Regions from separate parts of the Homo sapiens genome. Here region 2 is linked to region 1. The links are contacts of gene promoters, found by promoter capture Hi-C in blood cells and fetal thymus (Javierre and others, 2016). All regions are on one chromosome and are shown on one strand. The core of a region is centred on a gene start or on the middle of the fragment in contact, and the rest is flanking DNA. Distances in the headings are between cores, read along the strand shown. Region 1 holds the start of ADAMTS8 (ADAM metallopeptidase with thrombospondin type 1 motif 8). Region 2 overlaps NTM (neurotrimin).

Evidence for each region. Contacts are between HindIII fragments. The CHiCAGO score rates a contact against its expected background, and 5 or more counts as called.
Region 2: a fragment that was not itself captured here is called in contact with the fragment with the promoter of ADAMTS8 in region 1 in 1 of 17 cell types (endothelial precursors); the score reaches 7.1 in endothelial precursors.

Annotation. Positions count from the first base shown.
Region 1 is chr11:130,426,763-130,430,460 of GRCh38, reverse strand. ADAMTS8 (ADAM metallopeptidase with thrombospondin type 1 motif 8) reads left to right here and starts at 1,852. Exons shown (of 9, transcript NM_007037.6): 1 at 1,852-2,894. The coding sequence starts at 2,175. The HindIII fragment of the contact is 10,262 bases long and covers 1-3,599 here.
Region 2 is chr11:131,672,621-131,676,318 of GRCh38, reverse strand. All of the region lies in intron 1 of NTM (neurotrimin), which reads right to left. Among named protein-coding and RNA genes, the nearest start is that of NTM-AS1, 11 kb to the right of the region's middle. RefSeq lists an enhancer at 2,010-2,304. The HindIII fragment of the contact is 2,124 bases long and covers 653-2,776 here.

The sequences.
Region 1 (3,698 bases), core at 603-3,102:
CTGCCTGCAGTCTCAGCTACTTGGGAGGCTGAGGCAGGAGAATCTCTTGAACCTGAGAGGGAGAAGTTGCTGTAAGCCAAGATCGCACCATTGCACTCCAGCCTGGGTGACAAAGTGAGACTGTGTCTCAAAAAGAGAAAATCAGGAGTTGTACTCTGGGAAACAGCAAATAAGGGGCTTCAAGGAGGTAAAAACCAGTCATTGAACTGTTACAATAGCCCTGAGGCAACACAGAGTTGTATTCATTGCTTGCCCAGGTCAGACTGTCCCAAGCACTGTACAGGATGTCCCAAGCACTGTACACTGTGCTAGGACGAAGTGTTTTGCTTGTTTTGAGAAAAGGGTTGAAGAGACCATTCTTTCCATTGTCCTTCCTCTAGAAGTGTTTCCCCAAAACATTCTAGACTCGTTATTCCTATCCTATAAATTATGCAGGAAAGGAGGTTCTGCACCATGCTAGGTTGGGAAGTTCATCCTTTCATCTAATTCACAGCTGTCCCTCTGTGTTTCTGAGAAAGCAAAGAGAGGGGGGATACTTAGAGGGAATTTGGCAGCACTTTCCCCTGGGCAAGAGCCTCCTCTTTGGAGGTAACAAGCCCTGAGAGTCTCAGATGCATGCTGAACCACCACACTGCAGGAAGGGGTCAGATGGGCTGAAAAGAATCAGCGATGACCTCGACTGTCAACATCCCCAGCATAAGCACAGAGCTGGGTACCTGGGGGCAGGTGAATTGGCAAAGGATTTAAAGGCCCTGATCCCAGCGGTTCCTAATGCATCACCCACATTGACAACTCAGAGAAAGGCACAGTTGGTGGATGAGTCTAGAGTTTGTAGGTAGAGAACAGGGCCCTCCACCCAATCCAGACCTGTGTCATTGAGACTGGGATGGGATGCAGTTTTGTGGTCTTGAGACCATGTCATCCCTCTCTTCCTGAATACTACCCCCTTCCCTAGGGGGCAGTGGTGACATGGGACAGAATAAATTCACCTCATACACATTTGTTCCTGGGGCTGTGGCAACGCAGTGAAAGGGCCTGCCACCTTACTTGAAGTCCCGGGCAACTAGCAGTATCCAGAAGAGAAGACCTTTTTCAGGGACTGGAGGTCTGTTTCCCTCTTGGGGAAATGCTAACTTCCAACCTCAGTGCTGGTAACTTACCACTGTGCTGGCCTCTGCCCCACCTGCCCTCTAACAGGACAGTGAGAGTCCCTCTTAGGGTTAACCAGGTGGGTTGTTTTTTGTTTTGTTTTTGTTTTCCCCATCTTCAGTTTGGAGTGAAAGTTAGGAAGGCTGTGCAGTAGTGATGAGAGGAGGGCATGATTTTAGCATGACCTTTTCCTCCTCTCCCTTTATGCTTTACAATGAAAAGCTCAGGAACCTTCTCCCCACACAGTCGGATCTCCGGAGGCATCTGCAGGGATCCCAACAGTGTCGGGCTCTGCAGTCGGACTCTGCAGGGATCCGAACAGGGTCGCTGAGACCAGTGCACGAGCCTCTTCGGAAGATGCATCCTGGACTCTTGGCCGCAGAGGAGAAAGCGGTTGGGGTCTCCCAGGGACTCTTTCTAAAGGGTCAGTCCAGCATGGTAGGGGTTAACGTGGGTCCACGCGTAGAGGGAAAGGAAAGAAGTTGTAGTTGACACTTCAGGGGGGCGGGTGGCGGACGGGTCTCGCTGCCTGATTGGTTTTGCATTTCATCCCAATTTTTTTTTCTCCACTCTCTCTCCCTCTTTTCAGTTTCTCTCTCTGATCCCAGGGGAGGGGAAACGGGAATAGTGAGAGATCAAAAATAAACCTCTTATGTCAAGCCGGGAAGGAAGTATAAATAAGAAGGGCTCGGCAGCCCACTCGGTGCTTCCCGGGGTGGGGAGGAGGCAGGAGGCGGCTGCGCGGGGCTGGCGCGGGCAGGGGCGGAGGACGGGCGCACGCGGGCCGGGGCCAGCTGCTCGCGCTCGGCTCGGGGGCGGCGGCGCGGGAGGAGCGGGCTGCGCCAGCCAGAGGGGCCGCCGGGGGAGCGCTCCCGCCGCCGGGCCCCGCGGGCCGAGTCGGCCTTGCACCCGATTGATTCCGCTTTTCCTGGAGAGAGCGGCCGGGCCGCGCTCGGGCCGCCAGCACCTGCCCGCGCCTGGCGGGCTTCTTCCCTCTCCTGCGCGCAGCCACCGCCGCAGCCCCCATGCTCCCCGCCCCCGCCGCCCCCCGGTGGCCTCCGCTCCTGCTGCTGCTGCTGCTGCTGCTGCCGCTGGCCCGCGGCGCCCCGGCCCGGCCCGCAGCCGGGGGGCAGGCCTCGGAGCTGGTGGTGCCCACGCGGTTGCCCGGCAGCGCGGGCGAGCTCGCGCTCCACCTGTCCGCCTTCGGCAAGGGCTTCGTGCTGCGCCTGGCGCCCGACGACAGCTTCCTAGCGCCCGAGTTCAAGATCGAGCGCCTCGGGGGCTCCGGCCGGGCGACCGGGGGCGAGCGGGGGCTGCGCGGCTGCTTCTTCTCCGGCACCGTGAATGGGGAGCCCGAGTCGCTGGCGGCGGTCAGCCTGTGCCGCGGGCTGAGCGGCTCCTTCCTGCTGGACGGCGAGGAGTTCACCATCCAGCCGCAGGGCGCGGGGGGCTCCCTGGCTCAGCCGCACCGCCTGCAGCGCTGGGGTCCCGCCGGAGCCCGCCCCCTCCCGCGAGGACCCGAGTGGGAGGTGGAGACGGGAGAGGGTCAGAGGCAGGAGAGAGGAGACCACCAGGAGGACAGCGAGGAGGAGAGCCAAGAAGAGGAGGCAGAAGGCGCTAGCGAGCCGCCACCGCCCCTGGGGGCCACGAGTAGGACCAAGCGGTTTGTGTCTGAGGCGCGCTTCGTGGAGACGCTGCTGGTGGCCGATGCGTCCATGGCTGCCTTCTACGGGGCCGACCTGCAGGTAGGACTGAGAGCCTCCTCCAGCCGCCGTGCCCGGAGGCCCCCCAGACGCCTCCCAGCGTCTCTAAAATCTCCCCTTCCAATCCCTCTGAGAAAAAAAAAAAAAAAAAAAAAAAGCCCTCCCCACTCATCTTCTCCAGCCTTACCCCAAACGAGATTCTCTCCTGTCTGAGAAAGAGCAGTAACTCTTTTCTGAACTTCTGCCACCCTGGATCCCTGCGCCCCCACCCCCAGGTCCCTTCCAGTTTAGAGTGGGGCTGCCGACGCCCATCCCTCTCATCCGAATCTCCCGCGGCACGTGGCGCACTGACCCGAAAGTGGGTATCAACGCATTCCCCGGCACCTGCCTCTCCCAGCAGAGATGAAAATTGAGCGTTTACGAATAGCTCCCACTCCCACCCCTCAGCCCTCTACTGCCTCCAGATCTGAGAGGCTCCCAGGGAAAGGCAGATGGGATGGAGAGAGATGGCTGTCTGATTCCCTTGGGTATGGAGGTCGCCATAAGCAAAAGACATTGTTTGAAAGGAGCTGAACCTGGAGAGGGGCTGCCCAACTTCTGTGCAGCCAGCTGGTTGTGATCAATGGGGCATGGACTACCTTGCCAACCTGGCGCTCAGCCCCGGCAGAACTTGGCAATGCCAGCAGCCAGCACAAGAGGGAGGGGCAGAGAACTTCTGCCTGGGGGCTCAGCCCAGGAGCTGAAGCTTTGGTGGAAACGCGAGGGGCGCAGGGGCTGGAACGAGCTCTTTGGGTGAATGTCTCTAGTAAAGCCAGACCCACACTTGGTCCACCCAGCTGCCCTTAG
Region 2 (3,698 bases), core at 465-2,964, 1.2 Mb before region 1:
CAGTCTTGGTTTTGTTTTATGTAATTATACAGAAAACATCTCATTCCTTTTCTACCAAACAGCACTTAAATATCTGAAAACAGTTATGTGCTCCCAAAGCCTCCCTTTTCAGTTTCTCTTCCCTATGTTCACCTGTTTTGAGACAAAATGGACCTTTGTGTCTTCCAACAGCCTCTTGCTAAAAATCAAATTATCCAGAAGAGAAAAGCAAGGGTTCAGGTTCAAGTCTCTCATTTCAAAATCTGGCTAAATGTCAGTCCAGTCCCATGGTGACATGGACCTACCCAGCTAAGTTTCCAAGGGTGAAACCATTGGTCCAAGGGGTTTGCTTGCCAGTCCTCTTCAACACCAAAGGTGAAAGCCATAAAAGACTCTCCCAGATTATGGATCTGGACCCCAGTCCTTGCCCCTGGAAGCAAAGTCAAGCAGACGTCTGGGCTTTTCTCTCTTCTAGAAACAGGGCCATTTTCTTTTAGGGGATTTAAATGGAAAACATCCTCTGCCTGAAGTCTTGAGTCACCTTCATCTGAGACGACACACAAAACCACAGACAAAATGCTGGCAGAGGGTCTTCTAAGTCAAGGCCCTCTGTGGAATTTTGTACTCAGACAGTCTGTGGGTGGAGGGTCACATGATGAGAAATGTACAAGCTTTGGAGTCCAAGCTGGGTGTGAATTTGGTCTCCTCTAGGATATAGCAGCTGCGAGAACTCGAGTAAGCCGCTCAGCCTCCCTCGGCCTCAGAGTCTCCTTTGGTTAAAATGAGATAATCCTACCTCCCTTATTGGGCTGTCATGAGAAATGAAAGAACAAAAATGCAAATTCTCTTGCTCATAGTAGGCACTCAACAAGCAATGATTAATTAATGCGGCCACCATTCCAAAAAGTTATAACAATGCATTTGGCAAAGGTTCAGTCTGTATTACTGGTTATGTAAGATACTAATGAATTATTATAATAACATTTGTGAAATCATATCCTAGCCAGTAATAAGAATTTAAAAATGTGTTGGGAAAACCACCCGTGATATATTGGGTTTGAGCCAAGAAAGCCAGTCGACAACAGATGAGCTACTCTGCTGTTTAATATACTTAATAAAACAGTGTAGCTGCCCGAAATTGCTGTCTTGCTAAACAGAAATATCCCAAGGGTTTAAACAGAAAAGATAAATGCTCTCTTCGTCTTATACAAGAACCAAAGTAAAGATGGAACTGGGGATCTGGAAGCTCAGGCAGGATCAGGAAGATGGGTGCTAGGCGAAGGTTGAGGTCTGCTCACCCGGGCTAAGCATTTGAAAAGAAAAGAGTCTTCAAATATGGTGGGATGAATGCAGGAAATGGGACTTTGGAATCCATCTGGCACACTGGGAGCTTTCTTTTCTAGCAGCAAGTGAGTAGCTGTATGAAGATCCAGATGAAAGGGAGAATATAAGACCAAATTCTGTAAACTATGAGCCCCACATCTTGGTCCCTAATCCATGCATGTCTTGGAGCTGCAATGAGTTTAGGTGCCTGATAACCTATATCCCGCGGGGAAGGTTTTTCTGTCTTTCAGAGAATTTCAGAGAAGCAGCATTACAGGTAACCAGACAGGGAAATCAGGCTTGCAAATAACAATGGCAATATTCTTGTAACTGCAAATGGGAACAATAAGGCTGGTTCTGTTACACTGAGCCAACACCAGATTCATGGGAACCAGAAAAAGACTACAATCATAGCAATGAATGACTTCAAATGAAATGAAGCAATCCCACACAAAGAGTTCGCTTGCCCGACTGATACCAGCGAGTGGCCAGCTCTCTGGTGTTTCAGCATCCTCAAGGCCAGAGCATCCCAGCTGCAGGGAAGCAGAAGCACCATCCAGGTCATGCTGATCACTTTACAGGCGACAAGCCAAGACACACTAAGGACGTCCAGCCGCTAAGCCACAAACACCAAACTGAGCTTTAGGATTGAGCTTTCTTCCTACTATACCAGCCTCTCCTTTTCAAGAATGACAGCCCTAGGAGTGACAAGAATGTCTTGGGTAGAGAAGGAAGACTTTTTATGAACTGCATTCCTTTTCAGTGAGCTCTTTCCAGTTTCAGTGTAGGCGGTGGCCAAGCACTTGTGCAGCACGTCTGCTTCTCTGGGAAAGAGAACGTGTGCGTGTGGCACTACTTCTCATGGCCACGCGAGGGCGCCCGCACCCCGTGCTAGGACCCTTCCTCCTGCCTACCTGCTCACCCTACGCTGTGTGTGTATGTTTTTTCCATGAGGTCAGAAGTATCAAGGTTGTAAAATAACATATTTTCACTTGTTTTCTTCCTACATCCAAGACATAGCATTTCTGAAGTCAATTATCTCCCCGAGTTGCCATCATCTCCCTACCCTCTTTCTCTTTGTGCCGCCTTTCAACCCATCAGAGTCTGACACCAACAGACGGGGGAGTGGAGGTGTGGGCAAAAATGAATTTATTTTTTCTCACTGGTGATGTCAAATCCTTGTTCTGGCACTTTGTTTTAAAAGGACTTCTGCAAACGTGAGATCTCTGTTCTCCAGCCTCAGGAAGGAGAGCCGAGAGAGTGGAGGGCTGCCATGCTGTCTACAGAGGGTCTCAGGTGTCACCTGGGCCCCCCAAGGTACAGGTCCCTTTAGTACCATTTGTCCAGCAGTGCTCCCAGTGAGGGATGGAAGAGCATTTTTGCAGAGTTCCCAAAAGCAGACAAAATTAGAGCAGCAAGCATCACCCGCTAACTGTATCACGTCACTGTCTGGCACCATATTTAAATGCAAGCTTTGTCCAGAGGTGGGCAGGTGACCCAGATGATGAAGAGATAAGAAGAAAGACACACACACTGAAACACATACACACAGACAATGAGGACACAATTTGCAGTTCTTACAAAGTACAGGCCTGGGGGCTGGCAGAAAGGGCCCTGTGATCCTTTTGGGGCCACCATAATGCCCTGCTCAGAGAAGGCCACCAGCCTCCTTTGTCCTCTAAGGTAGGCATCCTACAAAGTTAGTGGAAATGGACTGGTCAACCTCAAGTCTCTCCACTCAGGAGCCCACAGGCAGCCCTGAGCATCCTCCTGGTCACCAGCTGTACCCCAGTGGGCACACAGCAAGGGTTCTGGGGTCACCTTCTTGATCCATTGTTGTACTCACAATTTACCACCAGAAACCTCAGGAGTTTTCTGACCCTCCTGCCCTCCCTAGCCCTCTCCATCCCCATCTATTTTTAGGCTAAAGCCTAAAATAGACAAGGAACGAGGTCACTCCCCACCCCCACCCCGGCACCGTGGTCTTCTCTGTTTTAAGGGAAATAGACAAGGAACACGGTCACTCCCCACCCCCACCCCGGCACCGTGGTCTTCTCTGTTGTAAGGGAAATAGGCAAGGAACACGGTCACACCCCACCCCCACCCCGGCACCGTGGTCTTCTCTGTTGTAAGGGAAATAGGCAAGGAACACGGTCACACCCCACCCCCACCCCGGCACCGTGGTCTTCTCTGTTTTAAGGGAGAACTTATCGCAAAGCCTTTCTTTTGAAGGCCAGAAAGAAGAGGCCAAGGCTGGTCCATGGGTATTTGAATTCCATAAGCCTCCACAGAGGCCCTACTATGTACCAGGAGTACTAAATACCTAAGTAGAATTGTGTCCCTTTCCTATTGGCACCAGAGTCTAGTGGGAAAATATATATATGAATAAACATTCT